Regions from separate parts of the Homo sapiens genome. Here region 1 is linked to region 2. The links are contacts of gene promoters, found by promoter capture Hi-C in blood cells and fetal thymus (Javierre and others, 2016). All regions are on one chromosome and are shown on one strand. The core of a region is centred on a gene start or on the middle of the fragment in contact, and the rest is flanking DNA. Distances in the headings are between cores, read along the strand shown. Region 1 has its middle 17 kb from the start of MIR8070. Region 2 holds the start of ZBED5 (zinc finger BED-type containing 5).

Region 1 (4,343 bases), core at 42-2,541, 940 kb after region 2:
AGTATGGCCGTTTTCACGATATTGATTCTTCCTATCCAGGAGCATGGAATGTTCTTCCATTCAATTATTTGTCTATGAGTCTCATAATCCCCACCAGATTGTGAGTTTGTGGAAGGTGGGGGCAATGATTCATCTCAGAATTTGCCACAGCACTTGCCACAGCACTTAACACCTAGTATATGGTAGGTATTTATTGGCTTAATTTATTAAGTCTCTAAGTAAATGAATGTATTCGCCAAACTGACTGTTGGACTACTTGAAATTCACAGAGCTCAGAGCAGCTAAACCTTGAAAGTAGATAAAAATCACCAGGAGACCTGGCTCACCTGGGTCTCATTCTGATCCAGTCAAAGGTTGTCATTATGTACAGCAACCTTGCTTTTTGTCCCTGGGGAGCACTCCAGGCTAACCCATCCCACTGGCACCAAAGCCCTTTCCCATCATCCCCACCACACCCTGGAAGCTTAGAACATGTCATTATCCTCCCTCATATGTCAGTCCACAAGATGCCAAGTAGATCCCTAACACTCCTTGCAGTGATAACAAGATAACATAGTGACAAAGTACTTTGAACTTCACAGGTTCCATTCACCCTGCAGTTATGGCTATTACCGTGCCCAGAAGCCACCACCAGGGGGCTCCAGCATGTCTCTGAAACCTGGCTGTTCAGTAAGTCTATGAGAAAGACTGGAGGAAAACTCCGAAGTCTTAATTTCCATTCCCAAGACACAGAAATGCTGGACAATCCCAACTGACCCCCTCACCCGAGAGCACAGCCGGGGAGGGTCCCAGGGCCCAATGAGGAACAAGTGCTTGTCTTGTCCCTGCAGATTTGAGAATCCTTGGGTGAGAATTATGTGGATTTCAAGTTTTCTAGGAAGGACAGGGAAGGAGGACTGGAAAATCAGAGCTGGTAGTTCAAATTTTTAGTCAGATCTGGTTACTTTCTCCCAAGGCAAGTAACCCAAGAAAGTACCAGAAATCTTACACTAGCTCCACTATATTATGGTTTAGTAGTATTAGTGTCAACATTAACATTGTTGAAAAATACAATTGCAATTTTTTGAGCACATGCTATACAACAGGCATTGTACTTTTTTCTCTGTACATGATATCATTTGACCCTCACGTTGCCCCTGTGAAGAATTATGATTATTAGGAAACTAAGGTTCAGAAGAATAAGTGATATCCCAAGGTCACATGGCTTCTAAAGGCCAGACAGTCCAAGGCAGAGTGGAGCACATGAGCAAAGACACAGAAACAGGGAAAGCAAAGTATTCACAGTGCCCTACAAGCAGCTGGGTATTCTTGGAGAATAAAACAAGAAGGACATAGAGACAGAGACCACCTATCACAACACAGAATATACTGTTAGGCTAATGACTTTATCATGCAAATGACTGAAAGCCTTTGAAGAGTTTTAAACAGGAGAGTGACATGCCAGACTTATGTTTTAGGAACTGTGGCAGAGAATGGATCGGAGAAAATAAGACTGAAGGCAGGAAGACCAGATGGAAACTGTTGAAGTAATAAAGAAATGATGACAGCTTTGTGCCTTCTCCATCTCTTTTATATGGAGGGACAGCCCTGGAATAGAAAAATGTTTAGGAGGTAAAATCAGCAGGTCTTGGTGAAGTATTACATAAGGTGTCAGCCTACGGCATCTCCAGCCTATTCTCCCATGCCTTGGACTGACGTATACAATCATCTTGTAAATGACCCATGTCAAATTGTGCAGAGAATACATGAATGAACAAAGCAAAGTTTCTGATGACCTTCTAGTTGGAGCAGACAATACCAAATAAACAAGAAAAATATCCAACAGAGATAAGTGTTATGCAGACAATTAAAATATGGTGATGTGATAGGTGTCGGGCTCCTTTAGAATGAGTGGTCAGGGAAACCTCTCTGAGATGTCATTTAGACTTTCTAAGGCCATGTGAAAATCAGGGAAAGAAGTGGCTTACGAGGTTGAAAAAATCCAAAGCAGGCCAGTGAAGCTAGAATAGAATGGGCAAAGGAGAAAAGGGAATAAGGTAAGATTAGAGAGATCGGCCAGAGGCCAGATCACACAGGACTTTGGAAGTAAGGTTTGGGAACCTAGATTTTGAGTATCATGGGAAGCTTGTGGAAGGTTTTAATCAAGGGAATGACCTTATCTAATGTAAGTTGCTAAGTGATCTCCCTGGCTTCTGTATGAAAAATGAAGGCAGGGGAATAGCGAAAGCAGGGATAGTTGTTCCACTGAGAAATGATGGTGGTCTGGAGCAAAGTAAATGGATTACGGACCTCTTCTGATAGAGTAGAGTGGAAGGTAAGAGAGAGACGAATCAAGGGTGACTCTCTATTTTGGCTTGGGCAACAAGGATGGAGAAGCCATGAAGGAGCAATTTGACATGGAGAAATCAAGAGCTTTGTTTTGGACGTGTGGAGTTTGAGATGTCTACTAGAGACCCAAGGGAATATGCCAAGTAGGCAGCTGGAAATACAAGTCTGGAATTCAGGACAGAAAGTGCATATAGAAATGCACATTCCAGAATGATCAGCCTATAGTTGGCATTTAAAGTCAGAACACCAGCTGAGATTTCTTACTGAGTAAGAAAGAGCAGAGATGAGGCTGAGAAGTGAGCTCTGAGACATTCAAATATTTGGACGTCAGAAAAAAAAGAGGAGCTAGGGAAGAAGATAAGATGGAACAGCCAATGGGTGAAAAGAAGTCAAAGACTTCTGCAGTGTCCCCATAACCAAATGAAGAAAGTGGTCAAGAAAGGGAAAGGAACCAACTGTGTCAAATATCACTAAAAGTTCAAGTTGAAAGAGGACTGAGAACCAACCATCAGATTTTACAAGATGGATGCTATTAACGCATACGGAAAGAGATCTCAGGGGATTGGCAAGGACAAAGTTCAATAAGAGCAAATTAAAGGGAGAAAGGAAGTAAGGAAATGGCCTCAATGTCCCTAGGAGGAAAAACCACATGCCAGGGATGAGAACTCAGGGGTGGTATAGGGCTTGAGGAAGGTGGTGAAGGCTAAGGCAAGTAATGAGCTCTTGAAGGAGGAGCTAATCGCAGTGGCACAGTGTGTGTAATCTACACTTCTTCTAGCAGCAGGAGCAGCAGCCCAGAAGTAGGAGCTGAGAAGACAGAGGTCTCATACATCCAGAGTTAGTTTTCTGATGGATGAGTCCAGCCAAATGAGAGAAAGTGAGGGAACCCAGAGTTCTGACAAGGAAGTGGCTCAGATAATTAACCATGTGAGTTCACAAAGAAAAATGTGCAGGGCAGTACTTGTGGGATGGGACAAAAACAGGAGCCAAGGACTTGAGGACTCTTTGTGGAAGAAGAACAGGCAGGGGAGGAATGAGTACTAACAGAGCTGAATAAGAAGCTGGTCGGAAGGAGAGATTAAGGTAACAAGACCATGAGAAGGTCCTTAGCTAACTGGGAAATCAGTCCTGGAGTCACACTGGCAGCGGCTCCATCTTCGCGAAGAACAGGTTGGTACCAAGACTTGTCCCCAGAGCAGTCCTATTCCATTCATTGCATTTCCAGAGATTGACAATGCCAGGTGAGCTAACCATGCCTTTCACAACAGGTGGGTCCTGGGTTGGCTCTGCAGCAGTGTGCGTGCTCATTATAGGTAAGACCTGCCTGCAGGGCTGGAGGGGATTTGCTCCTGGCCTTCAGAACATCACGTTGTACATTCTTCCAAAGCAATGTCCCCTTGTGTTTTTGATGTTCCTAGAGACGCAAGCTTGGGTCCATGAACAATCTAAGAAAATCCTGGACTCAGAAATGCTTCTTCTTTTACACAGATGAGGTAGTGTTTTTGACCCAAATTATCTCCATTATGATAAACACCTTCCCTCAGACCTTAGCGCAAATAGATAAGCCCACTCCTCCACACATGCCCTGGCATACTTGGCCCGTAAATGGAAGATAGCTTTATTTCAAGGCAAAACCCTACTACACTGATATTTTTTTCTACTGTGTTGTGAGATATTGGGGAGAAATTGGGGATAAGAACAGTGCACCACTTCCACAGCACATAATAAGCACTCAGTAAATATTTTGTATTGGAATGAATGAATGGACACAATTTAGAAAACAGGGAAACAAAAGAGAAGAGAAAAGAAAGAGGTACCAAAACTTTTAGAAAAAAATTAAAACATCGTCTTTTTTTTTTTGAGACAGAGTCTCATTCTTGCCAGGCTGGAGTGCGGTGATGCGATCTCGGCTCACTGCAACCTCTGCCTCCCGGGTTCAAACGATTCTCCTGCCTCAGCCTCCCAATTAGTTGGGACTACAGGTGCATGCCACCATACCCAGCTATTTTTTTTTT
Region 2 (4,356 bases), core at 1,179-3,678:
GGCTAGCAACAATTCTGAAGAAGTGAATTAAACACACACACAGTTCCAAGTTTTGCGAGATACATAATTCTACTGTATCCTAAATGTTATGCGTTAACAATGAAGAATAAATTGTATATCAAAAGTTAGGTACTGTTTCTCTGGACTTAAATTATATAAACGTTTATATTATCCAAATTAAGACTCAATGAAAGTAATGTATATTTTTACAGATAACTCTGCATTCTATTTATACAACAGGTGACGACTTAACCAGGACCTAAAAAAAAAAAATAAACTCTCATTTAAGAGGTTTATTTCTCATATAATAAAACAAATCAAAATTAAAAGGATAATGCAATCTAAGGATTGCTAAAGAATACTATTAACTCTATAAATCAAGGCATACAAATTATGTCTGTCCAAATATAGCTACTTTTGATTTAAACTTTATAACCTGGCTATAGAGTAAGTTTTGTATTCTCATGTTAGATCTTGAGTCAAAATGGTTCTCCTATTAAGGGGTAGAGGATAAGATACCTGAAATAAGGTGTTCTCCTTTCTGTAATCCCTCTCTCCACCTTGGCAGCTTGAAATGCACTCTTCAAAAGAATAAAATTAAGGGATGGGGTGGGAAGGGGAGTAACCAAAAGCCTAGAATGAGAAAAATTAAAATTAGATACAGTAACAAGCAGAACTAACTATAAACCCGTAAGATGGGTTTATTCTTTCTGGATCTAAGCAGTGAAAATGATTCTTTACTGCAATGCAGATCTTGGACTGAAAGAGAAGACGCCTAGCATAGTAAAAATTCTAACATTTTCATCCTGTTCAATATCTTGGCAATTTAGATGCTTTGAGATGTTCCCCCACCTACTGACTTCATAGAAACATGTTAAAACAACACCACCACCACACTTTCTAGAACTTGAAACTAAGCCTAATTTTTAAAAGTACAACCTCATCAATGTCTCTAAAACTAGGTCTTGAATCTAAAATGGAATTATACATAGAACTATTACATGAAGCAGTTCTTTCACTACAATCATTTTTAGCCCCCCAGTGACCAATCTCCTCAGGTAAACAATGTCTAATGACTGATGATTGTTTACTGTATGCCAATTACTGCTAAATCCCTCATATAGATTATCTCATCTATGAAGACACAAGGATTATTAATAACCCCACTTTAGAGATAAACAGACACAGGTTAACACATCTCGCTAACACCTCTTGTAAGTGAAAAACCAAGTTCAGAGCCCAAAAAGTTTGACTGCATAGCCCATGTGTCTAGCCATTACTTGGGTGTTCCTGAATACTTTTAATTCCCCAACTACTAAAAAATCTCGTTACTAGGAGTTGGGTTATGCAGCGAAACGGATGAACAATGGATTATAACTGCCAGAAAGTCGAGGGTCTCATACTAGCAACAGCATAAAGCCCTGCTTCTTATTGGGAGCAAAAAAGCAGATTCTCCTTCCACAGTCTCCTTTTGGATTTTGCAACGGAGAACTCTGTGGAGCTGCTGGTTCACGTAAAAGATCAGGATCCCTCTCGTTGCCAGAGGACACAGAAGAGTAGGAAGCTTTTGTTTTCAGAAAGAAGGTCCTCAACCCCACCTCTTCGAAGGTGTTTCCCCGAATTTCTCGAGGACAAAGAATCTGGACTCCTTTGAGAGTAAAGTTTCCTTTCCACTCCCTGAAGAGCGGGGAAAACTTCCGTCTTTAGTCTCCTTCCGGTTAAACTGACAAGTATCACAATCCTTTCTCCCCTATCTTCGGGCGGTTCCGGCTGGGAACAATACCCTCAGGGTCAGGAGGACAGGATCTGAGTGCAGGCCAGCCAAAAAGGTGGGAACAGATGCTCCTTCCAACACCTAAATGCTTTTTTAAACGGTCACCTGGATGTGCAGCCAGGGCCAACTATCCCTCAGCTCCTCCCTGTCACAGGTGCGCGCTGCCCACAGATTGCCACGACTGGGGGGCTCCCTACCAGTCGCAGCCCACCCTCGCCTCAGGTCTTCTCTCGCGTCCCCGGGCGGCCGCCTGCGCTAACGACCACATGAAAACGTCTCAGCACCCAACACCATCTCTCTATTTCATCTCCATCAGCGATGGAGAGAACGGATTTTGCCGCGGCTGGGCTGCACAGCAGCGCCGCGGTCCACAGCAGAGCCCGCGACCGCCATCTTAGGCAGTTCCAGGAAGCGGCCATTTCAGAGCGCACCGCTTAGCCGCGGCGGCGGCTCTGCTTCTCACCTTCACCGAGGCCTGAACAGGGTCAACAGCCAGTCGTCGTGGACTGGAGGGGGAGGGGAGAGAGGGAGGGGAATGAAAAACAAAACAGAGAGGAAAGAAGGATTCGGGGACAGGGTGATGCTCTCAGCTCAGGGATATCGCCTAGGCCATCTCCATAGAGATCCGATTCGCGGCTGGCGCGGTCGCCGGTCTGAAGATAAATTTAGCACTCTAGAGCACCCGAACCCTACAATCTTCACGAGCGACTCTGCCGCCGCCCAATCAGCGCCAGATTTGCGTCCCGCCACCAATCCGCGCTGAGCAGCGGGGCGGGACCAAAGGAAAGGACCAAGCTCGGTTGAGGCGCGGCCCAGCCGCAGCCGCAGTCACAGCCTCAGCCGCAGCGGCCGTGCTACCTAGGTGATAGCGGAGCGGCTGGGTAGGAAGCAATTGTTCTCAAACTTCACTAGCCCCGTCGGCGCGGACGCTTGTCGAGAATGCAGATTCCTGGGTACTGCCAGATACGGTTGGTGATCTTGTAGGGCTGGAGTGGAAGCCATGAATCTGCATTTTCATCATTTCTGGCCCTCTGCCCGGGCTGGGGTGATTCACGGGGATTCGTAGTGGCCCCAAAGGAGCACGCAGAACCTCGGCTGCTGTGCATTTATCACCTCTTTTGTTCCCGGAGGCCGCACCCCAGGTCCAGTTTACACAGCTGCCAACTCCTTTTCTTGGTTCCCACTGGAATCTAGGAAGAAAACTCGCCCTTTACTTCTCCGCCCCACACCCGACGACGGAGTGTCTAGAGGTCTGGTCGGCCTTGGCTGTGCGGAGGGCTAGGCCTGACGAGCGGGCGCTGATGCGGCGCAGACCCCGCCGGACCTCTTGGTCGGCCCGGGGTAGGCTGGGGAGCCGCGGGAACAGGACTGGATAGGGAAAGCGGCACCGCAGCGTCCACGGGCAAGCTGAAAGTCCGCTTGATGTCTTTGCATCACAGTGGCGCCCTCCCCGCAGGAACGCCCGGCCGCCTGCACCGAACGTTTGCCTGCAGGGAACGGCCAACCCGCCCTGAAATACTCTTTTTGTGGGCTGCAGCTTTCGGGTATTTTAAGCCATGGTTCTGTGCCCTTCCTTGTTTTCAAAAACACCACAGCCAAAGGCTGCGGGTTGTGTGCTTTCATTTTGTGTTAAGTTCTGTGGTGGAGACCTGGAGTCTGTTTTTCCAAATAGGCACCTTGAAATAGATACGCTTCTTAAGCGGGGAAAGTACGAGTAGGTCCTATTATTTGCAATGTTTTAGCCTTTCCAGACTCCGTACAAATGACTAAATGAAGATTGGATCGTATTTTCAGGCACTGCACCAATGATAGAAAATTCTCAACTTGGGGTCAAAAGCAAGGGCAGCTTTCGTTTTTCTTAAATATGCTTCTGATCAAATATCTAAAGTGTTGAAAGAAACCTAACCCTTAATAGCACAATTTACAGGAGTGCATAATTTCCTAGGACTGACATTTAGTTCCAAATGTTTTAAAGTCAATTACAACATCATCTCACCCTATAGTAAGCTGTCCATATATTCTCATTATTATTTTTAAATTATTTCTATTAAATCAGCTTCATTTGAACTTTAACCATAAATGCATAAATCGTTTTTGGGAAGGGGGTACAGTCGCGCTTGAAGAGCAAGGGATTTTGTCATTGCGGGAGTTGTCTGGCTTCAGAATAATATTGGAATAATATATTTTCGTGTTTCATATTTTAGAAAAACCTTTTACATATGTGCTCCCAAACCAATCTTTTTTTATTTTTTATTTTTTTTATTATTATACTTTAAGTTCTAGGGTGCACAACTTGCAGGTTTGTTACATATGTATACATGTGCCATGTTGGTGTGCTGCACTCGTTAACTCGTCATTTACATTAGGTATATCTCCTAGGGCTATCCCTCCCCCCTCCCCCCACCCCACGACAGGCCCTGGTGTGTGATGTTCCCCACCCTGTGTCCAGGTGTTCTCATTGTTCTATTCCCACCTATGAGTGAGAACATGTGTTTGATTTTCCTGTCCTTGCCATGGGCTCCCAAACCAATCTTTACACATCTTGTTTACATCTTCATGAAGAGGGAAAACCCAAAATATTA

What was found. Contacts are between HindIII fragments. The CHiCAGO score rates a contact against its expected background, and 5 or more counts as called.
Region 1: a contact is called between a fragment that was not itself captured here and the fragment with the promoter of ZBED5 in region 2, in 3 of 17 cell types (naive CD8 T cells, naive CD4 T cells and activated CD4 T cells). The highest score is 8.3, in naive CD8 T cells.

What each region holds. Positions count from the first base shown.
Region 1 is chr11:11,798,376-11,802,718 of GRCh38, forward strand. No RefSeq gene overlaps it. Among named protein-coding and RNA genes, the nearest start is that of MIR8070, 17 kb to the left of the region's middle. The HindIII fragment of the contact is 1,661 bases long and covers 462-2,122 here.
Region 2 is chr11:10,855,625-10,859,980 of GRCh38, forward strand. It overlaps ZBED5 (zinc finger BED-type containing 5), which reads right to left and starts at 2,429. Exons shown (of 3, transcript NM_001143667.2): 1 at 2,238-2,429; 2 at 520-633. ZBED5-AS1 (ZBED5 antisense RNA 1) reads left to right here and starts at 2,593. Exons shown (of 3, transcript NR_034137.1): 1 at 2,593-2,742. RefSeq lists enhancers at 2,095-2,474, 2,628-3,265, 2,775-2,864, 3,266-3,901. The HindIII fragment of the contact is 21,619 bases long and covers 1,563-4,356 here.